7 separate regions of the Homo sapiens genome follow, and regions 2, 3, 4, 5, 6 and 7 are each linked to region 1. Evidence: promoter capture Hi-C in 16 types of primary human blood cells and fetal thymus (Javierre and others, 2016). All regions are on one chromosome and are shown on one strand. Each heading gives the region's core, a stretch centred on a gene start or on the middle of the fragment in contact. The rest is flanking DNA. Distances are from core to core; before and after follow the strand shown.

Region 1 (3,363 bases), core at 326-2,825:
CAGTTGAGATTTGTACTACCTTCAGAATGACATTTTTAAGTAAAATGAAGTGCAATTTTCAGCCAACTTAAAAATGCTTTGTTCCTGTCTGTTACTTAGGAAGACACATAGGGCTAATGTTTTAAGGAATCGTATTCTAGTTTAGATAAAATAAATACACGCTTTTCGACCTCAGTGTAAGTGAAAGATACTTGGTGCATGACCAGCCCTATTTTAAGGCTAATACAAAAATAGGCTCTAGATTTTTCTATTAGAACCTTTAAGGAAGGTGAAAAAAATTGATGTATTTGTCCCAAGATGATTAAGAATTTGAAACAGAAAAATAGATTATGTCATGCTTGAATATAAGTAAACTCTAATTGCTGAAATCTGTAATTAATATCTCATACATAACTTATAGAATTATAATTACATCTCCCCGAAAGAATTACCACTCTTCACAGCATTTAAGTTTTTGAATCAGTGTAAACAGTTTTAGGTCCACTTTGCAACACTCAAAAACTAACAGTTTGAAATTTGCACAACAGCCTAAAGAAAGAGGAACTGTCCTGGAATAAAAGAGAGTGGACAACTGGCAACAAAACACTCCTGAATGTGACAACGCACATTCTCCACAAAAGCTAAAACTAGAGAAATCGACACAATAACCATGTAACCCATATGCAATCTCAAAGGAACAAAAGATGAAATAAGTACTGTAATGATATGCCCCAGAAACACCGAAAAGTTTATTTCTTTGCTCTAAAATCGTGAGCTGATAGTTTTGCTCGGTACACTTGCATTGTTTCAATTAAAATGGTCAGTCCCGGGTATGAACTTCTTCGTTAGTTAGCTGAACAATGGGATCTCAAGGAACTACTGGCTTTTTATGAACGAATGCAGTGGTTTCTAGCACCTGCTTATTTTAACGTTTTGCTGTCATTTCATTAGCATCTCCCCTGCGGGCTGCGTGAACTCCGCAAATCACACATCCTACTGCCTTTCCCGGCGGCAGCCGCACTGAGTCACCGGCCCCGGACCCCGCCCTGCAGGGCATTCCAGCTGCTTCCAGCAGGACCCGTTCCGCAGGCCTGCGCCTCACTCTTGCTGCGCCAGGACTGCAGAGGGACATGGTAAAAACGGGGGCTGAAAGACCTCTCGCAACAGCCTTTTAGGACAGACTCAAAGCCTTCCTCCCTGAGTTTTATCTGTAGGACCGAAACAACAAAATCTCAGAGGAACCCACCAACCACAGCAGGCCGCAGCCGCGGCGACCCCGGCCCGCACACACTGCGCACGCGCGCACACACGCGCCCTCCGCCCGGTGGGGGTTCGCCCAGAGGTTGACAGAGGAAGGTGGGTGGGGGCCTAGAGCGGTGGGTCATGGCTGGCTGCACCCGCAAACTCACTCACCTCCGTAAACGGATCCATCGCCCCAGGCGTCGGACTACGAGACGATGGAAACGGTGGTTCAAATTCAGGAAGAGAAAAGTGAGTCTCAGCTCAGTGTGTCTCCTGGAAAAAACCAGGAGTCTGAGGCGGGGGAACTCTCCCACAACCAGCTGTCCTCTCCTCTCGGCTTCCAGTGACGGACTCGGCCTCTGCAGCCGTTCAAATTTGAATTTCAGCGCCGAGCCGCGAGCATGCGCGCTGGGCGGAGCCGGGGCGCCCTCTCCCCGCCCCTGCGCTCGGTCACGTGGCCGCGCCGGGCCGGGTGGTTCCCAGGGGCGGCCCCGCCTCCTTCCCGGCCCCCTCCCAGCCCTCGCCGCGGGGTGGAGGCGGGCAGCGGGGCGCTTCCTGCTCTCCAACGGCGTCGGGTTCCTGGCTCCACCCCCAACAACCACACATTCCCCTCAGCTTTAAGGCGATTGCTTCACACCAACCGCGTTTGGGTGTTCCCGCCTTCCTTCATTCCTAAATAAAGTATTAAGGCCGGGAGTAGTGGCGCATGCTTATAATCCCAGCATTTGGGGAGGCTGAGGCTGGAGGATCGCTTGAGCCCAGGAGGTCATGGCTGCAGTGAGCTGCGATCTCACTACTGCACTCCAGCCTGGGCGGCAGAGTGAGACCCTGCCTCAAAAAAGAAAAAAAAAGGATTAAGAGCCCTTGTGTTGGCAGGACATAATCCCAGCACTGTGGGAGGCCGAGGCGGGCAGATCACGAGGTCAGGAGTTCAAGACCAGCCTTGCCAACATGGTGAAACCCCGTCTCTACTAAAAATACAAAAAAATTAGATAGGCATGGTGGCGCGTGCCTCTAATCCCAGCTACTCGGGAGGCTGAGGCAGGAGAATTGCTTGAACTGGGACCCGGGAGGTGGAGGTTGCAGTGAGCAGAGATCACACCACTGCATTCCAGCCTGGGCTACAGAGCCAGACAAAGAGCCCTTGTGTTTCAGGTGCTGCTAGCCCGTTGGCCTTCAGTAGCTTTGTTTCCTAGGTCACACCCAACTCCTAGTCCCCAAAAGGGGGACTGCAGGCCTGGCCCTCAGAAAAGCCAGTTCCGGTGGGTCCCCGACACTCTAAGCCAATGAAATAAAGCTAAAATTAACAGACTGTGTGAAGCGTTCATGCACAATTTTTTATTTTAAATTCCATCCAACTGTGTACAGTGTTAGAGCGGGAGGAATTCTGACAAGCCCTCTATCTAGTTCAATCCTTCCTTTTACTGCCGAGAGAAGGGACACCCGAAAACGTTAAAGAAACTGGTCCAAAGAAATGAAAACCCTGTTCTCAGCTCATGACCCGTTTTCCACACTAGCTAAGGCTGTGTCTCCTGCTTATTCTTTGTAGAGTACTCCAAATTGTAAGATAGGTTACATAATTTCTGTATCAGATTCATTTCTTCTATAACAAGTCTGTGCAGGTAAAGATGACAGTTCTTGATTTGTTCATCTGAAAAGTTAAGAGTGACTGTCCATGAGCTGAACAAAACAGAACTATTCCTCCCAACTGAGTGGTTTCAATATGTTTAATAATATGTCCATCTTAGCAGTCAATCAACATTACAAAAAGAATTTACTAATATTTTTAATTTGAATTTTTGTATGATAAATTGTACGTGACTGAAATCACGGCAAGAGGTAAGGGAAATATTGCTTGGGGTCAGGGCTCCACCCAGTTAGCCAAATCGGTTAACCCATGGGTTTTTTTTTTTTTTAACCTTTGTGGGGAGTCATGGACTCCTTTGGAAATATGTTAAAACTGACCCTCTACCTAGAAAAATGACCATTTAATCATAAACTATTTAACAGGATTTTGTGAAGTTCATGGACACCAGGACAAGAACTTCTGATTTAGCCTGTTTGTATTTTAGTTTACTTATCTGTGTAACAGGAATAATCATCTGCCCTGATTTCCTCAGAGTTGTTAGGAGGGGCAGATGA
Region 2 (3,363 bases), core at 426-2,925, 980 kb before region 1:
AACAAAGGTCTTATTATGCAGATAACAGTCTTCCAGGTCTTCACTTGGAATTGCCCTCAGGAGAGCAGAGGCGGAGGCTGACTGGGCGTGGTGTCCTGAGCATAGAGACTTCTAGTCTCTTCTCTGGTGGTTAATGTTTCCTGGTTATTTAATGAGATTCCTAGGGAAGGAGTTTTGAGGCAATTGCATTTCTTTTAGAAGTTTTCTCAATCAGATAAGGGAACTTAAAGAGAGAGCCAGTCCTGGTGCTTCGAATAGTAAGGAGGATCAGAAGGAGTAGGGAGACGTCAGAGGGAGACCTTGAGGCTGCTTCATTAGTTCAGCATGTCAAAGCACCATATTTCAGGGCGTTTTCTGAGCCCCACCATTGAAGATATCTTCTCTCAATATGTGGTTTCTATTTTTTTATTAAAATTTTTTTGTTATATTTTTTCTTATCAAACCTTTGGATAAGCAGAAATTCTTAATTATATTGTAGATGGATTGGTCAGTCTCTTTTTTTTTTTTTTTACATTTTGGGCTATATATAGCTTGCTTAAGAAATCCTTCTTACCCGTTGGTTATTAGGATATTCTTGTATCCTAAGATTTTCTGAGATGTCTGTTTTTCTTTTTCATTCAAATAGTTAATCTCTGGAATTGTTTTGTTTAATGTGGATTGTAAAGTAGAGGCTGATTTCATTTTGCCCCCTACATTGTCCCCATGCCACTTATTAAATACAGGTTGAGTATCCCTAATCTGAAAATCCAAAATTTGAAATGCTTCAAGATGCAAAGCTTTTTGAGTGCCGACATGACACTCAAAGGAAACGCTCATGGAAGCATTTCAGATTTCAGATTTTTGGATTAGGGATGCTCAGCCAGTAGGTATAATGCAAATACTACAAAACCTGAAAGAATCTGAAATCTGAAACACTTCTGGTCCCAAGTATTTCAGATGAGGGATTTTCATCCCTTCCATCTCCCCCAGCCACTGGTCTGCACTGTCACTTTTGGCACATATCAAGCTTCCATATGAGTGAAAGTCCTCCAGACTATAAATGTTACATAACCTTGTTGACATCTTTATAATATTGGGCTCTCTTAATCTTAAACTTTATATGTTTATCCGTTTATTTTGGTGTTCTTTAATGTTTTTCAATAACTTTTATTGCTTTATACAGAAATATCTTGTAAAATGCCGAGAGGGAAAGCTTCTCCCTTCATCTCCTGAAGGTTTGCTGAAAATATACTGACAAAAGGCCAATGAAAAGGAGAGAAAGGCATACAATGTATTTAATGTGCACAATGCAGGGAATCACATGAGAATGATTTACCAATAGCCCAATGTAGTCCAGATGCTTATATACCCTTCTATATGTGGGAGAGAGGAGACAGAGAATGTGCAAATAAGTAACAAAGTTCCCCTGAGCTCTGAGGGAGGTGTCAGGAAGGTGAGGGATGGAACTTCACTGTGAGCAAAGGTCATCTTATGCAGATAAAGCCTCCCAGGTAATCTATGAGAGTTGCCCTTAGGAGAATAGATGAAAAGCCTGTCCAGATGTGGTGATCTTCTTTTCCTGGGTGGTTGATCTTTTTGGGCTATTTGATGAGATTCCTAGGGAGTGGGGTCTTAAGAAATTCCAAAGAGAGTCCCTCCCGGTTCTTTGGGAAAGAAGATCAGAGACAGGGAGGTGGAAGCAGGTCAGAGAGAAACCTTGGTTCTGAGGCTTATTTCTGAGGCTTTTCACTTTTCAAAGCACTTAGCATGCCAAAGCTCCGTATTGTGATGAATCATTTTCTGCACTCCAACACTATCTTCTTGTTTTATTATTATCATGAAATGTATATTTAAGACATAGTTCTTTCTGATGCTTTGTTCCTGGTGTATAGAAATGCTAATCACTTTAATATATTGATTTATACTCAGAAACCTTGATAAAGCCTTATTAATCCTAATAGTTTCTGATAGACAATAATATCATCTGAATAATGAAAAATTTGCCACCCCCCTTCTTAAAATGTTTAGAATGAGATTTCCAGTACAATATTGAATAGAGGCAGTGATATTTGACTTCCTTGCCTTGTTTTTGATTTTAAAGGAAAAGTTTGATGGCTCACAGTTGAGCATGATGATTGCTATAGACTTTCTGTAGATATCCTTTAGGAAGGAAGCTTTCTGCCATTCCTAATTTGCCTACGTTCCTAAGATGCTTTAAAAAATTATGATTGACTTGTGTATTGGTCCTGTTTGGCGATAGCAGAAAGGAGTTACATTTATTATCCGTGATTGTTTTCGATGTCTGCCATGGATATTAGTGGGGAGGGAAAGATAGGAGGAGGTAATATATGCTTATTATATACTTATTTTCTGATTGCTTTATATGCTATAAAATAATTTCATGCAAATTACCTCATTTGGGTTATTGTTTCCAGTGTCTTTTGTTTGTTTGTTTGTTTGTTTGTTTCTGGTAGGGACTTAGAGGATTCTGATTCCATAACTGTGGCTGGTCTTATGCCCACCAGTTTTTCCTACCACACACGGGTGATATTCAATTTGCACTATGCTTAATTAACCTATTCTTTCTTCCTTAGTCTTCTCTAGTCTTCCATGTCACACACTTAGTGAATTGTACCTGTAGCCTGTTATTTTTCACTGTACTCCTGAAGAATTTTCTTAAAGTAACTAAGAAATCAATGGTGCCCTTCCATTCTGATCCTTTTCTTCCTTCATTCACTTATTCACTTGCCAGATATTCATTGATAGCATACTATGTGACCACAGGTAAAATGGTGAAGAAAACATCCCTGCCCTCATAGAGTTTACACTCCAGAGTGGAATTAGGACAATAAACACATAGACCGGTGTGTAACATTGCAAGGTAGTGATGCGGTGAGTAAAGGAGTGAGTGGGAGAGAGAAAGAGAGGGAGGGATTACTGGGAATGTGTGTGTGCCAATTTTACTGGCATTAGGTTACCTAGGAAAGGCTTCCCTGAGGAGATGACCTTTGGTCTGAGTCCCAAATACAGTGAGAAAGTCAGCTGCGGGAAGTTCAGGAACAGCAGATGAATGACAGTGTGGTGTGTCTGGGGAACTTGAAGAAGTCAGGTGTGGTCACCAGAGAGCAAGACAGGAGAAACTGGTAGGGGACAGAGAAAGAGACAGAGGCCAGGAAATGCTGGGCTTGCAACATTCTCATTAGAGAGATTTTGCTTTTATTGATGTGATGAAACTATGTAAGTATATTTTAGTAGCACATAATATCTTTGTTTACTTTCTCAAAGAATTCATCAGTCTGTTATCTGATTTCTGGGAATAAGAACGCATCCTGGGCTTCGCTCTTGTCTCAGAATCTCCAAACTCAGTGATTGATGGGAAGAAGC
Region 3 (3,363 bases), core at 644-3,143, 960 kb before region 1:
GGTGGTCTCCCCTCTGTACCTTCTGTGTTCAGATTTCCTCCTCTTAAAAGGATAATAGACAAACATGCTGTATTAGGGCCCGGCCTGAAGACCTAATTTTAACTTACTTCTTTCGAGGTCCTGTCTCCAAATACAGCTACATTCTGAGCTACTGGGGGTTAGGATTTGAACATACAAATTTTGAGGGGGACACAATTCACCTGTAACAGTTCTCATACTAAAGAGGCCTCTATCAACCTGAGAGGATTTAAGGATTTGAAGGAAGTCATTTAAACTAGTTAAGATTTAGTATCTTCATTAATTTACTGCAAATAATAACACCTGTCACTCAGGGCTGTGAAGAAGAGTGAGTAAAGTGCGTGTCCACGGTGCCCAGCCCCATGCCTGCTCTAGGCGCCTGTCTGCCACTCCTTCTGGCAGCTGTCCCCTAGCCTTCATGATGTCAATGCCAGACACTGGGAAAGCAAAGACTTTTCTCTGCAAGTTTCCATTATATTGCAAGCCAACCGTAGCTAATAGCACATTTCCCCACCTGTCAAGTAAATGGGCTGAATTGTTGCTGAGATTAGCATACATGGCTAGCGTGTACAGAAAATGAAATACTGAGCCTCCACACTGGATTCCATTCTCTGTTTATTCTCTTTCTGCTGAGTGCTTGCATGTTCTGTTCTGAACACACCGTGTTCCCTCATTTCTGAAGCCACAAACTTCCTCTTAGGCCCCGGGCTGTCTTCAGAATGGCCATCAGGTCCCTGATACGGGAACCTGAAATGACACCCCCACCATATACCCATCCATCCAGACCCTCCAGTGTAGGGCAGGTGGGGGGACATGTGCCCACCACTGCTGCTCCCATGGGAAACAAAGACTGGCTTCAGCAAACCTGGACACTCATACATCCTGAATAATGTCAGCTGACCACACCACCGACTTCATGTATTCCTTGACCTAGACACTAAAGGTATTGAGACAATTTCAGTCTGTTTGGCATAAGAAGGATGGTAGCACAAAGAAGAGAAGAGCAAAACTTTTACCCAAAGCCTATTTCGGTGGCCCCTTCTGAGGTTCAGTGTACCATGCAGGGCGGTGTTCTCAAAAGTGAAGACTAGGCCAGGTGTGGTGGCTCACGCCTATAATCCCAGCACTTGGGGAGGCCGAGGTGGGCAGATCACCTGAGGTCAGGAGTTCGAGACCAGCCTGGCCAACATGGTGAAACCCCATCTCTACTAAAAATACAAAAATTAGCCACGCAAGGTGGTGCCTGCTTGTAATCCCAACTACTCGGGAGGCTGAGGCAGGAGAATCACTTGAACCCGGGGGGCGGAGGTTACAGTGAGCTGAGATTGTGCCACTGCACTCCAGCCTGGGTGACAGAGTGAGACTTCATCTCAAAAAAAGAAAAAGAAAAAAAAAGTGAAGACTAGAGGGCTCCAGGAAGACAGCAGTGCCAAGAGGGAAGGGCTGCTTTCAGTGGGTGATCCTCCTGAAGCCCTTTCCCTTTCTGCCTAACCTAATGCAAGGGGAAAATGTGGTCTATGTCTTTTTCTATCAGAGACAACTCAACATTAAAAATATGAGATGAACAGCTCCCTTTCCACTATCCCCATCATCATTATAAACCCATTATCCATCATCAGTAGATAATGACTTAGCGGGACAGAGGACAGCTTTTCTGGTGAGGAAGGAAGGGGCTGAGGAGTGGAAGCAGATCGTTTCTCCAGCTGTTTGGTGTTTCTCTCCCATTGATCTGCCCTGGCCTCCACTGGCCCATCTGTTGGGCTTGTGAGTGCAGTAGGGGAGGGGACACACGGTTCACCAGGGCAAGTGTGTTCGTTTCCCCAACACACAGCTTCTACAGGAATGGCCATACAGGCTTAATTTTTTTCTCAGTAGGGTTTACTGTGCAACAGAAAGACTACAAAGAGCATTAAAAGGTTCAAAGCCATTGCAGTCACCCAAAACTAAAAAACTATATGGGAAATTCAGAAAAAACAACAAAAAGTGATCAGGTATTTGGGACCTTTGTGGAACCGAAAGAATTAATTAAGCTGTATGGAAAAACCTGTAGAGATGTAACAGATCTTTAAGAGACTACAGCAAGAGGCATGTTGAACTTGGGGCATAGAACAATGTGTAGAGAGATGAGTTTCTAGGTGGGAGTCAAAGCGATTTCTGTCTGTCGTCTTCAAAATGCCACCCAACCTACGGAGACATTTAGTGGAAGAGTGGGCTTGTTCACGGGTTATAGAGTCAGATGTTACTGCTATACAGACTTCAGTACCTAACTCTAGAAGAAGTGATTCCTCTTTATTTAATCCACTCAACTATAAACACACCACTTAACATGCATATCGAGGTGATAGAATCTTAATATTAAACATGGAACAATTCCCATATTTTTGGAATGGAATAAAGTCAAGCCAGCAGGCAAGCAGGAACGGTATAGCATTCTCTGCCCATTCTTTACCCACCACCTGGGATTTGATAGTGACTTTGGAAGGCATGATGATTAGAATGTCTAGCCACCTGCCTAGACTTCCCTTTTGTTTCTCCCTTTAATGGTTCTTAAATTTTAGTTTGTATAAGAATTATTGTACCCGGCTGTCTACACAACTTCTTGTAGCTGGTATTTTACTGGGCAATTTAAGTAATACTAGGTTATCTACTTTGGTAATTTTGATAACACTAGGCTCAGTACTGCTGGTAGCTCTAATGAGATGTTCATTGAGGAGGGGATGCATTCATACAACAGCTATGTATTAAAATGCCTGCCTGCCGCGGCCCTGAGTCTGTAACTGTGAATGCGATGTGGACCTTGCCCTTAGAGTACTCCAGATGTAGTGGGGAGAAGTTGACAAAGGGAGTCTAGTAACCCCAGAGTTATGCTGGGGGAAGCATAGGACACCAGGATGCTGACTTTGTTGGCTGAAGATTTTAGAATGTATTTCCTTCTCAGTTATGCCTCACCAAGAGGAGTTGGGCTTGTGTGCTGATCTTTCCTGGAGAGCCTGATGAGACCATGTGCCTTGTGTCCAGTTCAAGGATGGGATAGGTTGCCCTGATCATCGGTAATCTGCCTAGAGGATTTGCTAGCTTACCGCCTGTATTAGTCCGTTTGCATGCTGCTAATAAAGACATACGGGAGATTGGGTAATTTATAAAGGAAAAAAAGGGTTTACATGGACTCAGTTTCATGTGGATGGGAGGCCTCACCATCATGGCAGAAGGCTCTTACATGGCGGCAGACAGGAGAGAATGAGAACCAAGTGAGAGGGTGTTCCCCTTATAAAGCCATCAGATCTCTTGAGGCTTATTCATTATAAGAATAAGAATAAGAATAAGAATACCATAAGAATAGTACCG
Region 4 (3,363 bases), core at 554-3,053, 860 kb before region 1:
GTCTATGTGTATGCTTCAAATTGCAATTCTATGATTCTCCAATAAAATGTTTAATTTAGAGGTTTCCCTCTATATTACATTTTGACTTCAGATATACAAATATGTGTTAAAATAATTTATTTTACTCATATGATATGATGAAACTAGGCAGATGTTATAACTTTAAAGAAAAAGTCAAAAGAGCACAAATTTATATGAAGCAAAGGAATGTTGAGATGAATTGCAAATGAAGACACAACTAGTTTTCCACCAGTGGAAAGGAAGTCAATTAAATCACTGCCAGACAGGAGATATAGATAGATAGATAGATAGATAGATAGAGATATATATAGATAGATATAGACAGATATATACAGATATATATATAGATAGATATCTATCTATCTATCTGTCTGTTTATCTATCTATCTATCTGTCTCTCCATCAGTTACCTACATCTTAACAAAGCGTTGTAAAATAACTCAAAGCCAACAGGACTAGAATCTGATAGCCCAAAAGGATATGTTGTAGGCGCTGCTTAGTTTTCTACTGAAACACAAGATTTTGTTTTTTACAGATTTATCCAGTGTTCTCTCATCACAACAAACATTACAACAAAAATTTCTCTTTATGAAGACCCATATTGTATGTCTTTGGCTGGAATATAACAGATGGTTGTGATTTTTTTTCCCCCATTTCGTCCTGTTGATGGCACATGGTATCTCTTTGTTTTATTACTGGTTATAACTTTGACCACTTCATTAAGATAGCATCTTCCAGATGTCTCCACTATAATACTTTCTCCCTACCTTAGCAGCTAATTCATGAAAAGTTTGTAGGGAGACACAGTGAAACTATGTAAAGCCTCATTACCCCAATTTCACCCATCAGTTTTGGCATTGACATTTCTTATCTGAATTAATTATTGCTCTGATGATTTCCAAAGGAAAATTTTCTAATACTATGATTTCTTCTACATGTATTAGTTGGTTTTCTTTGGTAGTAAGAGCTCTGTTTTTTCCCTACGTATTTATTCACCTACATGTTTATCTCCAGTGGGGAGCTCATACCAGCTCCTGAGAGCCACTTTTGTACAACTCTGTTCTGCTCTGCGTTCATTGACCTCATGTTGGTTCTTTAAGTTGGCCATAGTGAGAGTCGTTACACTGTGGAAATCGGAAAATAATATCAAGCAGATTCGTGTGTTTTTCCCCAGAGATCTGGTGTTTCAACATCAGCACATCACTCTATAACAATGTGGACTAATTCATTCCTGTTTTATTCAGTGGGTTTAATCTATCACTATTATTATTGATTTTGATGCTCAGCGTGTCCCTGATGTGGCCTGTGGGAGCTCTTTCAAGCTGACTTCTGTGTCCTTTTGACCTGTATTGCGTTATGTTTTGAGCATTTCTTTACTTTCTGGCTCAACAAGATGTTCCAGAACTATCTAGATCTCCTTGCCCCACCCCTAATACGAGCCACTTCCCCAAGGAGCCCTGGTTCCTTTTAGTGGAGAGTAGCCTCTGGCCCTTGCGTGCTGCCAATTTATGCTCAGGCCTGCCTCCCCGTCTCACCCTTTCACCCTGCCCAATGCCTTTTTGATGAAGGAAGGATGGGAAATAGTAAATATTTTTTAAAAGAAAGGCAGGTAAAGGAGGGGGAGCAGAAGAGGAATAAAAATATCTCTTTATATGCATTTTTAATCCCCCTCCCACAAATTTTACCAGAGACTAAATTTAGTCTTTGCCTGGTGATTTGGATTTCTGAAATGGTTACATTTTATGTGGTTGAGAATGTGAAAATTTCTGAAGAGCAAAATCGTTTGTCAACCGTGTATTCAGTCCCTACTCTGGATGTGCCTCACATTACGCTATTGTCACAGTGCAGAGTCCTAGCCCTCAAGCAGCTAGAAGGACAGTGAGATGTCCTGAGGCTTATAGCTGATGTGTCCTCAGGGCCTGTGGCCTGCGATGCAGGCACCATCTATGCTGTCTGAGGAAGAGAAATCAGAAGTCAGAGAGACTTCCTAGAGGACCCCAGAATGAGCCTAGAATGAGATGAGTTTGGGGGTAGGACTTAGCGAGTTGGGCAAAGAGGGGATGGATGTTTCATAAAGAGGGAAGATCATACTTAAAGCCAGAGAGATTTGGCAGACTTGAGGAATGAGAGATGGTTTGGCCAGTTTTGAAACACTTGTTTCTTCATATTCTTGAGCCTAGTTTTTTTAAAAAAGCATAAGTATCCTTTATTATAGCCAGATTTGCCTATTCTAAGCCACCAGCCCAGAGTTCAGTTTTGGGATTTAACACTAGTGCAATGTCTTATTGCAAAGAGATTGATTGCAGCATCTTCCCACAGAAGAAGCCACCTGAGAGAGAAAAGAGAAAGTAAAATTAGTGGACATTCTACCAAAGAAAGATAATAAAATATTTCTTTATAGTCTAGTGGTTTTTGTCTCAATGTTTTTTCATTTAAAATGTATCAATTCCTATCCCTATGGGTACCCCACCCCGCTCCATTGAACACAGACCCATTCTGATCTAAATGGACGGTTTTGGATGCCTTTACTCATAAGCAAATGCAACTGGTTAATGACAGTAGTTTAATGCTGATCTTTTGATTGTTTGTTTCTGATCATTAAAGAACACCAGTTTATTACTTTGAATGATGTCTTGAAATGGATAAAATTCTTTTACTTCATGGCAGTTAAATCTGTCCTAAATCTAATCCTGAGTTTTCTTCAAGATATGTTCTTTGTGTAAAAATTGTTGCTTTTAAGTATGCTCCTCACATGGTTGTTTTTAAATTTTGCAGGCGATACCAGAAATTGCAGAAGATCATGAAGCCTTGGTAAGAATATTTGATCGATTGATATTGATGATTTAACCCTTCCTACTTTCCTGCATAATTGAGCCCTGTCATCTGACTGATTGTATAACTATGCATCTAGTATTTTGAATAAGTGATTTTTTGTTATTTTTGTTTTCTATTTGATGTTCTTTTATAAACAACTTCTTCAAAAATGTATTTTCCCCCCTTTTTTTGCTTTGGAGTAGAAAGAATATTTTATGTATGTAACCACTAAGTGATGCTGTAACCACAGAAAGATTGCTACCCTACTTCTGGAGCAGTGCTAAGCATAATTTTATGTATTATTTTAAACAAAACTAACTTTTATGTGGCCTGTGTGATGTTCAAAGTCAAAAGTCTTTGATTTTCTTCAGTGGCTTAGAAAGAAAACGGATTCACATTTTTAAAAGTATCCAGGATTGAAGGATGCAATGAAAATTATTTACTTTGAGTCTGAGAAAGTGCTCGATCACCTATCTATGAAGTGAATTGTATGATTGTGTCTGAAGATAGAAACCTTCTTTCTTAGAG
Region 5 (3,363 bases), core at 390-2,889, 830 kb before region 1:
TTAAAAAAAAGAAAAAAAAAGGAAGGAACCCCTTAATATACATACATGGAACCTTTCCTCTGATGGTGTCCTTTGTCTGTAGATCCTTTATTTCTTTCTTCACGAAGGAAAGGAGCATTACAGAGGGGATGTGAAGAAGTGGAATTTTGCCTTGTCTTGGAATTTAGGTCACACCTCAAAATCCATTCATGTTTTTTTCAATCAACATGTCATGTAATATGTTACCCTGGTCACAATTTCCTTCCTTAAAAAAGTGGGTGGGAATATGAGCTCTTTCACTCACCTAGAAACTATGCTGGGGAGCTTGATGGCAGTTGCCAGTGAGTTCGTTTAGAAGAAATTAGAAAGCGAACCTGCTACTGAATGCTATGACAAGAATTTTTGGATTTTATTTTGCTTTTTCATTGCCAAGGATTTTAAACCTCAGTGACTAAACATGAGGGGTTCTGGTTTGTTTTCCATTTAGAATTTCTTATTCATCCCTGGGGGGCTGTGTTTGCACAAGTAGTGGTGTCACTTTATAGTTTCCTGGACGTTTGATTTGGTGTTCGCTGGAGCCAGGTGGAGGTGCCTGCCCTCCACAAGCCTGTGCTAGGGGCAGTCTTACCGTGGCTGGATTTTTAGGAGTGGCTTTGCAGATCTGAGGTGAAATCATCGATAGGGCTGCTTCTGTGATATTTTAGTCTAAATACCGAACTCATAACTCCCAAGCAGCCCGGAAGTTGTCTGGAAGCTCTCACCGTGTACATACCCAAGCTTGACTTGGGCATTGGAGCAACGGGGTCCTTCTGCTGGCCAGACTGGGGACTTCTGGCCCAGCCACATGGTAGCTGAGTGTAGCGTGTGGGGTCAGGAAGGTTGCATTCTGATCTCAACTCTTGGAAGTTTCCTTTCCCCATCTGTGAAAGAAGAGGATGGATTAGAGGAGGTGAAAGTTCATGCCCACTCTAAAGGCCATTTCACTTGGATCTCTGAATCTAGACATGAGTAAAATGCTTACTGCATCTTATTTTATACCAAACACTACTGTTCATTTGTTAAATTGGACTCTCATGACCATGGACAAATAGGGAATCAGGTGTCAATCTGTACTAACTTCAGGACATTGATAATAATGGTAATATAATGGAATGTCGATATAAGATTAGGTTTGGATTTTGTGAATCAAGTCTTTCTTTGAAAACTATGCAACATAAGACTGACAGGAGACAGTTTGGCTATATATTATTCTAATAAACCACCACAAAGAGTAATAAACCATGACAAAGAGTAGTCTAATAACCTTAAACCATTTAAGAAAAGATTCCAACTAAGAAAGACTGTATATAATTCAGCAGAAATTTATGAAGTATTATATGACTCATTCATTCAAGCTCTAAAAAATACCTACAAGGTATTTAATTTACTTGCCCATGGAAAAGTGATGTGGACTTCATAAACTATAAACTCTTGAAATTAAGAATGTTGTTCATCAAAATAAAGGGAGTATCATGATTTTTAAATTTAAAAAAATTTCAGTGAGTAGCGAGATAGCTCTAAAAAGGGATTTCAGATTCATAATGAAGAAAAGTTTGTTGGATATTATTTTCTGAAGGTCAGTAGAGGCCTGTAAAGCAGAAGACTGAGCTAACTGGTGACATCATGTGGGTTGCTGTGGATTTATATTAACAGCTGAGCTTGTATGCCTTAGTCTGGGCTCTATGTTCTAAGTAAAATAAAGTTTCAGCTGGTCTGAATTTGACGTTGGCATTGTTATTGGCGTATGTTCTGAAAAATTAAAAGTTCTGAATTTTTGGCAAATAGGAAAATTGACCAAAGTCAGCCATCAATGATAATATTATTGAGAGTCTGGCATGTGCCAAGCAGTGTTCAGTGTTTTATATTACATTATTTCATTTTATTCTCATATTCAGAGAAAGCCACATTATTTCTGTTTTATAAGTAAGGAAATTGAGCCTCAAAGGGAGTAAAGAACTTGACCAGGTTACTGAGCGGGTAAGAATCAGAGTTCGAGTCTCAACCTTATCCCTGCTTTTACCTGCAAAGCATCCCATCCAACGCCTGTCAGAGATGTCACTCATAGAATTCTCCTGTATTTGCCAAGTAAACAACTCCCCGAAGCCTGGATAGCACCAAGCCCATTTTCTCACTCCAATTAGATTGAAATATAATCTAAACATGTATTTACTGGATTTGCAGGAACACTATTTTTTGTTTGTTTTTTGTTGTATCTGTTTAAAGCCTTAGAACCATTGCTTTGTTTGGAGTAGCCTGATTCCACTTCAGTCAAATACTTTTTTAAAATTTCATCTTTTTTTGACTTGGGGCCAGACACATTCACAGGACTCCATTATCTGGGGTTTCTTTGAATTTGGAATGCTTTTAAACACTTATACCTTATTTCTGCTGTTACTGAAAAAAATGCCACCATGGTCAGAAGGACCTGTGCTGTTTTTTCCTTTGCATCTGTGAGGTAGGCCTTACTGAGAGAGGCCTGTGCTGGGGCCTAGGGTAAAGCTTCCTCCTCTGGGAACTCCCTTCCCTTCTAGGGTTCCCCCAGGGGTGGAGGCCTTGCTTTCCCATGCCTCTGGGATGTAGGAGATTCTCAGTTTCCTGGCACAAACGGAGGGAAGGGCTGGGCTAGTTTTGTCGGGGAGGAGGTTGCTGTTAGGCGGGCAAATGGATCCTTTTGCTTACAACTTTTACCATTATTCAGTTCACTATTTCAATGGCAAATATGTTGGTGAGATCCCTTCCAAATTTCTCTACAAATACTTATACTTTTGATAAGCACTATTTAAAAAACTTGTTAGTTAAAAGATTTGGTAGAAAAATCAGAAAATACTGACTCAAAAGGAAGAAGTTTGAAAGATTCCTGTAATTATATTCCCAGAGGCAGAACCACGGCAATTATTTACAACTCTTGTGACTTTCATGGTGCTACTTCCCTGTTTGTTCTGTGCAAATATTCTCCTAATACATCATTTTTTTTCACCAAATGTGAGCATACTACATGCATTGTAGTTTTTCTAAACTTCTTTTAAAACTAAACAATATTTTGTGGACATCTTTCCATGTCAGTATATCTGGATTCATATTTGTAGCTATCTATACTTTTACATAATTTTAATGCTATAAAATATTCCCCATGGATTCTCACATTTACTCCAATAATTCCTTACTATTAGACCAAAAAATGGAGGCATGGATATTTCTATTTTCTCTTTGACCAAGCTGCTGTTCCTTAGGAGGGTAGTATAAAATATTTATTTGTTATTTTATCAAACATTTATTGTCTTCTCGGTGTCAGACATTGTACTTTGGGCTTGGAATACAAAAAAGAAAAAGACAGTTTCTGCTCAT
Region 6 (3,363 bases), core at 313-2,812, 810 kb before region 1:
CCAAAGAAGGGAAAAAAAAGCAGGCCACCTGCGCCAGCAGCGGCAACCCCTTTGGGTCGCCTTCCATGCTGTGGAAGCTTTGTTCTTTTGCTCTTTGCAATAAATCTTGCTGCTGCTCACTCTTTGGGTCTGTGCCGCCTTTATGAGGTGTAACACTCACCGCGAAGGTCTGCAGCTTCATTCCTGAAGTCACCGAGACCAGGAACCCACCAGGAGGAATGAACAACTCCAGACATGCCGCCTTTATGAACTGTAACACTCACCGCGAAGGTCTGCAGCTTCACTCTTGAAGTCAGCGAGACCACGAACCCACCAGAAGGAAGAAACTCTGGACATGTCCGAACATCAGAAGGAACAAACTCTGGACACACCATCTTTAAGAACTGTAACACTCACTGTGAGGGTCCATGGCTTCATTCTTGAAGTCAGCAAGACCAAGAACCCACCAATTCCAGACACATTTTGGCCACCCAGATGGGACCATCGCCCATCGCCAGGCGGTGAGACTAATGCCTATTGCCAAATGGTGAGTACCGTCGGACCCCTTTTGCTTGCTATTCTGTCCTATTTTTCCTTAGAATTCGGGGGCTAAATACTGGGCACCTGTTGGCCAGTTAAAAGCGACTAGCGTGGCTGCCAGACTAAAGACACACGTGTCAGGCTTTCTGGGAAAGGGCTCTCTAACAATCCCTGACTCTTCGGAGTTGGGAGCGTTGGTTTGCCTGGAACCAGCTTCTGCTTTTCCTGTACTTCTGGGCTGAGCCGAGGGTCGACAGAGAGGAAAGCCATTCAGCTCTGGGATCCCAACAACAAGTTGGTTGACCCTGCAGCCATGAGCAGAACTCTCAAAGGCATGTCGTCCAAGCAGACTCGCCCATCTATCCTATCTATTCTGACCCTTGCCGCCTGGGTCCTAATGCCTGCCAGACAAACTTCCTCTCGCCTCTCTTCTCTGAGGCTAGTCCCACTTCTAAAAAACCACTCCCTGTCTCTGGTGCTTTTCTAGTTTCTCCTATAAGAATTATTTCTAGTATAAACTCCAGGACTCTGTTACCTTCTTTAGGTGCCCGGGCTCACCAATCAGAAAGATGTAATTTTTGCCCAAAGCCCCATTGTAGGGGGACTATCTGGAATTTTAGGATCCCTCCTCAGACAATCAGGCCTAACAAAAGCTATTCCTGAAGCTAGGATATGGTGAGCCTCAGAAATTGTATCCTTCCTATTCATATAAGTGAGGACAAAAGACATCACTCTTCCAACTCTGGAGATCCCTTCCCTCCCTCAGGGTACGACCCTCCACTTCATTTTTCGGGCATAACATCTTTATAGGACATGGGTAAGGTCCCAATACTAACGGGAGAATGCTTAAGACTCTAACAGGTTTTCGAGAATGTGTCAGTAAGGGCCATTAAATACAATTTTGCTCAGTCCTCTTTGTGGTCTAGGAGGACAGGCAAGGGTCCAGGTTTTCGAGAATGTGTCAATAAAGGCCACTAAATCTGACCTTCTTGGTCCTCCTTGTGGTCTGGGAGGAAAACTAGTGTTTCTGCTGCTGCATCAGTGAGTGCAACTATTCTGATCAGCAGGGTCCAGGGACCGTTGTGGGTTCTTGGGGAGGGGTTGTTTCTGCTACTGCATTAGTGAGCACAACTATTCCGATCAGCAGGGTCCAGGGACAGTTGTGGGTTCTTGGGGAGGGGGAGAAACAAACCAAAACCATGGGCGGTTTTGTCTTTCAGATGGAAAACACTGAGACATCAACAGGCTCACCCTTGAAATACATCCTAAGCCATTGGGACCAATTTGACCCACAAACCCTGAAAAAGAGGTGGCTCATTTTTTTCCTGCACTATGGCCTGGCCCCATATTCTCTCTCTGATGGGGAAAAATGGCCACCTGAGGGAAGTATAAATTACAGTAAGAAGGAAAAGCTAAATAATTTCTACAGATCATTCAGTACTGCTCAGTAGTACCATGTTGGAATTCACAGGGGAAGTATTATAACTTACTGTGTTTCAATTCATTTATTTTAAAGCCAGAAACTGCCTTGAAATGGCTGCTATACCAAAATACCGCATCCCCAAAACCTGGTGAATTCTCAGAAAAATCATTCTAGGTGAAGAGAAGCCAGTCTATGGTGGACTTGCCTTATATTTCAGCACCGATCCCAGTGTGATTTTATCATAGGCTTTCATCACTAAGAATGTGGTGCAGTCTCTTGGAGTACAAGGACAGCATTAGTAAGAATCTAGAATACATTTATGGGAATTGGAGAAATTAAATTTTGACATTCACTTAATTTTTGTGGTATTCTCTTTTTGCCACAGAGCATCTCTGGAAAGCACAAGATAATGCAGGTTTTTGTCAATCGAATCACTTTTCCCTATATCCCTTATTAATAACTGGGATAGTATTCTGAAACAAGTACTTTGCTTTCAAATACATTTTAGATTTAACCCATAAACCTAAAAGTAAAATAACAGTATATTTAAAAACACACATTTACTGAAATCTTATACAGTTATAGCTATATAGAATGCAGGAGGTCCCGGGGTGCTCTGCAGGGAAGCTCTGCCAGTCCTAGCCAGTCCACCAGACCCAGTCAGCCCCTTTCACCTGAAGGATCCTTGGGGGACATGGGTAAAGGGATTACCTGGGATGGTTCAGGCTGCATGAACTCACAGAGATGTGCCTGTTCCTCAGGGACCAGATCTTACACTGTCAGCCTCCTTGACACTTTGATCAGACCGGACTCTCTCTTTTCCTATCTGAAATGCTGCAGACCTCAGTTCTAATAACTTCTGAGGCATCCCTGGCCCCAACAAGCCAGGAAATTCCTTAGTGAACCAGAGCAGAAATAGCCACCAGATGGCGCAAACACACAGCCATTGGCTCTCAGCCAGTCCCCTGAACTCTGGCTGACCAGCTGCTGGGACATTCTGTTACGTTGCAACCCTGCTTATAAGCCTGAAACGTTTGAAGTTGTTTAAAGTTTAAAGGCCAAGACAGGGGTTCTTGGGGTCTCCTTAGAGGGCTCTAAAGCTTTCATCAGGACCCGGTAGGAACTAGAAGCATTGTTGGATGTGCAACTGGCCCCCCTATTAAATGGGATTTGCCTGATGTTCATGGCAGATGGGCTTTTTCCCAGGACCTGAGTCTCCCAACTCTCATTCCCAGTTATTTTTCCTTACTCTGTCATGAAAGTATTTTAAGTAGGGCAAGCAATTTTTGCTTTCTGCTTTAACATGGAAATATAGGAAAGAATGCACTGGAAATGGAAAGTCTATGAATGTTGGCTGTAAAAACAATAATAATGTATTTGGGGGTTGAAAGTACTGTCCCATTATTAAAATATGTGACAGT
Region 7 (3,363 bases), core at 397-2,896, 800 kb before region 1:
ATCAGTTGATGAGCATTTGGGTTGTTTCTAGTTTTAGTTATGATGACTAAAGCTGCTATGAACACTTCTGTATAAGTTTTTGTGTGGGTGTATGTTTGCATTTCTCTTTGTTCTGTACTTAAAAGCACACTGATTGTATCACATACTGACTCTATGTTTAACCATTTGAGGAAATGCCAGACTTTTCCAAAGTGCTTGCACCAATGTATATGCTCACCAGTAGCTTATGAAGATTTCAGTGTTTTCAGGTCCTCATCAACACTTGTTATTATCTGACTTTTTGCTGATGGGAGGGAATGGGAGGGAAGTGGTATCTCATTGTGGTATTGAGTTGCATTTACCAGATGGCTAATAATATTTGAGCATCTTTTCTTGTGCTTATTGGTCATTTTTATAACTTCTTTGGGGAAATGTCTGTTCAGATCCTTTGCTTGTTTGTTAATTGGGCTGTTCATCTTTTAATCATTGAGTTGTAATAGTTCTGTATGTTCTAGATACAAGTCCTTATCAGACATGATTTGCAACTTCTCACATTCTGTGGATTGCCTTCCCACTTTCTTGAGAGTGTCTTTTGAAGCGTGAAAGTTTTTAAATTTGATTTTTATTTTGATATATATCTAGTTTGTTTTTTATTTTTATTGCTTATGCCTTTGGTGTCATAACTAAGAAATCATTGTTCAATTCCAGGTCATGAAGATGTATACCTACATTTTCTTCTAATAGTTTTATAATTTTCACCCTTATATTTAGTTCTTTGATCCATTTTGAGTTAATTGTGTATGGCATAAGGAAGGGGTCCAACTTCATTTTTGCATGTGGATATCTAGTTTTCCTAGCATTATTTGCTGAAAACTGTTCTCTCTTCATTGAATTTTCTTGACACTTTTGTCAAAAATCAATTGACTATAAATGTGAAGGCTTATTTCTGGATTCTTAATCCTGTTCCATTGCTATATGTTTATTCTTATGTCAAGTCCACGCTGTCTTGATTATGGAAACTTTGTAGTAAGTTTTGAAATCAGAAAGTGTGTGTCCTCCAAATTTGTTAGTTTTCAAGATTATTTTGGCTATGGAGGGTGTCTTGAATTTCCACATGAATTTCAGGATTGTCTTGTTGATTTCTACGCAGAAGTCAGCGGAGTTACTGATAGGGATTGTATTGAATCTGTAGATCAATTTAGGAGGAGCATTGCCATCCCAGCTTAACAAGATAAAGCCTTCTAATTCATGAACATGGGATACCCATTGATTTATTTAGGTCATCTTTAATTTCTTTCTACAGTGTTGTGTAGCAGTTTTCAGAATATAAATTTTGTACTTTATCTTTTAAATTTATTCCTATTTCATTCTTTTGTATGCTATTATAAGTAGACCTATATAAATGATCCCTAAGAAGAGTACTTCAAATTTTCTGGATCAAAAATCTTGTCTGGCTTGAGCCATGTAACCATGTTGGCACAATCAGTCACATCTAGGGTTATGTGGTCCTTCCACGTTATATATATGGTATGTATATATATACAGTGCTGTTTCTCCAACAAAAGCTTGAATCTAGGGTGATCTGAGTGGGTTTACCATGCCCACTACAAGCCCCTGCCCAGAAAGTGGACCTTTGTTTGGAACTCAGTTATCACATAAATACTCATTTATTATTTTTTCAGGACTATTCATTTACTTTATGAAAATTAAAATACAATGTTATTTTTAACAAGTAGTAAATGGAAAGAATGAGTAATATTAAAGCTTTCATTTCTATAAATGATACTACTTAGACCTCCCTATTAAATATTCTGGGCTCAGTATCAAATTCTATTGTAATATCTTTGAAAAGCATAGAAGCAGTTTCTAATTTAAAACTCTAGCTAGCTGCTGCTCTGCTAAGAATAAAGATTGACCACAAATTCAACTTAATCTGTCGATCCTTTGCATTTAGGCTATCATATTTGATTCAGAATAACTCCGCTCTTTAAGACAGTTTTTAATGACGTGATGAGAGAGGAAATGCAAAATATTTTACATTAGCCTATACTCTATTTGTCCGTCTAGTTATAATAGACAGACTCATTATAAATTATGACTTCCTATTTCATAGATATGAAGATTAGTCAAATATGTAGAACAAGAGAAAAAAGGATAGCAATGAAGTAATTCGTGATGGACTTTTTTTTTTCTTTTGAGACGGGGTCTCACTTTTTGTCCCAGCTGGCGTGCAGTGGCATGATCATGGCTTACTGCAGACTCACCTTCCTGGGGTCAAGTGATCCTCCCACCTCAGCCTCCTGAGTAACATGCCACCACACCAGGGCTAATTTTTGTCTTTTTTGGGGGGTAGAGATGGGGTTTTGCTATATTACCCAGGCCAATCTCAAACTCCCAGGCTCAAGTGATCTGCCCACCTCTGCCTTCCAAAGTGCTAGGATTATAGGTGTGAGCCATCATGCCATGACGGACTTCATAAACATAGTAAAAGGTTTCAGCCAAAGCAGTTTGATTTAAATGGATGTTTTAATCCTTGGCTTGCAATAATTTTATCCTCTGGAAAGTATGGCTTTTCAGTCAACGTATTCACTTTTGGCCTTGACCGTGTAGAGCAATTACAGGAGCCCATATCAACAAGTGTCTTCAGTTGTTGCATTAGTGCCTGGAGCCAGAACACAAAGGTAGCCAGAGAGGGTGCCCCTAAACCGTGTCTCCCCACATCTCTGACTCTGAACCACACATGCATGGAGCCTACTCAAAGCAACCTAGCTATGGACAGAAGATCTCACTAAGACCAGACTTGTAGCCCTGGAAACAGTTTGCAGTTTGTGCACAGACAAGAGAACTATCTGCTAAAACAAAGGAAGCAACACTCATTGGAGAAAAAACAGAATCCAGAATCTTCACCACCTAACATTCATAATATCTGGAAAAGAATCCAAAATTCCCAGATCATGGAGAATGAGGACAAAAGAAAATCAACTCCAGCTCTCAGATGAACCAGATGTTGAAACTAACAGACAAAAGGTTCAAAACGACTGTGATAACTATCCCCAATGAGAAAAACAAACCATGTTTTCAATGAATGAGAATCTTAGCAGAGAAATTAGAGGTGTTGGTAGAGAAATGGAAAACAGTAGGAAGCAACCAAATGGAAATTCTAGAAACAAAAAATAAAATTTCTGAAGTTGTATGTAACAATATATAATAGATCTTTTATAAATGTAAGCTATTATTATTATATAAGGGTAAAGATAAGGTATTTTGCCTTTATTTTATTATACGTTTACCAGTGAAATCGAAGCAGATAGGACAATTCTATCCACCTTTTCATCTTCTAAACCTTATTCTCTTTGGCCTTGAGAAAAAAAAAGTCTGGAATAT

What was found. The method cuts DNA at HindIII sites, captures the fragments that hold promoters and counts their contacts. A CHiCAGO score of 5 or more calls a contact.
Region 2: a fragment that was not itself captured here is called in contact with the fragment with the promoter of ANLN in region 1 in 2 of 17 cell types (naive CD8 T cells and total CD8 T cells); the score reaches 7.0 in naive CD8 T cells.
Region 3: a contact is called between a fragment that was not itself captured here and the fragment with the promoter of ANLN in region 1, in 1 of 17 cell types (total CD4 T cells). The highest score is 6.6, in total CD4 T cells.
Region 4: a contact is called between a fragment that was not itself captured here and the fragment with the promoter of ANLN in region 1, in 1 of 17 cell types (naive CD8 T cells). The highest score is 5.2, in naive CD8 T cells.
Region 5: a fragment that was not itself captured here is called in contact with the fragment with the promoter of ANLN in region 1 in 2 of 17 cell types (naive CD8 T cells and total CD4 T cells); the score reaches 6.3 in naive CD8 T cells.
Region 6: a fragment that was not itself captured here is called in contact with the fragment with the promoter of ANLN in region 1 in 1 of 17 cell types (naive CD8 T cells); the score reaches 5.1 in naive CD8 T cells.
Region 7: a fragment that was not itself captured here is called in contact with the fragment with the promoter of ANLN in region 1 in 5 of 17 cell types (total CD8 T cells, fetal thymus, naive CD8 T cells and 2 more); the score reaches 9.1 in total CD8 T cells.

The regions. Positions count from the first base shown.
Region 1 is chr7:36,388,074-36,391,436 of GRCh38, reverse strand. ANLN (anillin, actin binding protein) reads right to left here and starts at 1,575. Exons shown (of 24, transcript NM_018685.5): 1 at 1,393-1,575. The coding sequence starts at 1,410. It also overlaps a transcript of MATCAP2 not described here. RefSeq lists enhancers at 749-1,339, 1,340-1,930 and a silencer at 1,521-1,930. The HindIII fragment of the contact is 7,726 bases long and covers 1-3,363 here.
Region 2 is chr7:37,366,820-37,370,182 of GRCh38, reverse strand. The region is part of intron 1 of ELMO1 (engulfment and cell motility 1); the gene reads left to right. Among named protein-coding and RNA genes, the nearest start is that of ELMO1, 80 kb to the left of the region's middle. The HindIII fragment of the contact is 961 bases long and covers 1,195-2,155 here.
Region 3 is chr7:37,347,499-37,350,861 of GRCh38, reverse strand. All of the region lies in intron 1 of ELMO1 (engulfment and cell motility 1), which reads left to right. Among named protein-coding and RNA genes, the nearest start is that of ELMO1, 100 kb to the left of the region's middle. The HindIII fragment of the contact is 4,249 bases long and covers 1-3,363 here.
Region 4 is chr7:37,243,825-37,247,187 of GRCh38, reverse strand. ELMO1 (engulfment and cell motility 1) reads left to right here. Exons shown (of 22, transcript NM_014800.11): 7 at 2,797-2,832. Among named protein-coding and RNA genes, the nearest start is that of ELMO1, 200 kb to the left of the region's middle. The HindIII fragment of the contact is 3,776 bases long and covers 1-3,363 here.
Region 5 is chr7:37,218,353-37,221,715 of GRCh38, reverse strand. All of the region lies in intron 10 of ELMO1 (engulfment and cell motility 1), which reads left to right. Among named protein-coding and RNA genes, the nearest start is that of ELMO1-AS1, 220 kb to the right of the region's middle. The HindIII fragment of the contact is 1,761 bases long and covers 759-2,519 here.
Region 6 is chr7:37,201,272-37,204,634 of GRCh38, reverse strand. The region is part of intron 13 of ELMO1 (engulfment and cell motility 1); the gene reads left to right. Among named protein-coding and RNA genes, the nearest start is that of ELMO1-AS1, 210 kb to the right of the region's middle. RefSeq lists an enhancer at 1-617. The HindIII fragment of the contact is 2,965 bases long and covers 80-3,044 here.
Region 7 is chr7:37,183,710-37,187,072 of GRCh38, reverse strand. The region is part of intron 13 of ELMO1 (engulfment and cell motility 1); the gene reads left to right. Among named protein-coding and RNA genes, the nearest start is that of ELMO1-AS1, 190 kb to the right of the region's middle. The HindIII fragment of the contact is 199 bases long and covers 1,547-1,745 here.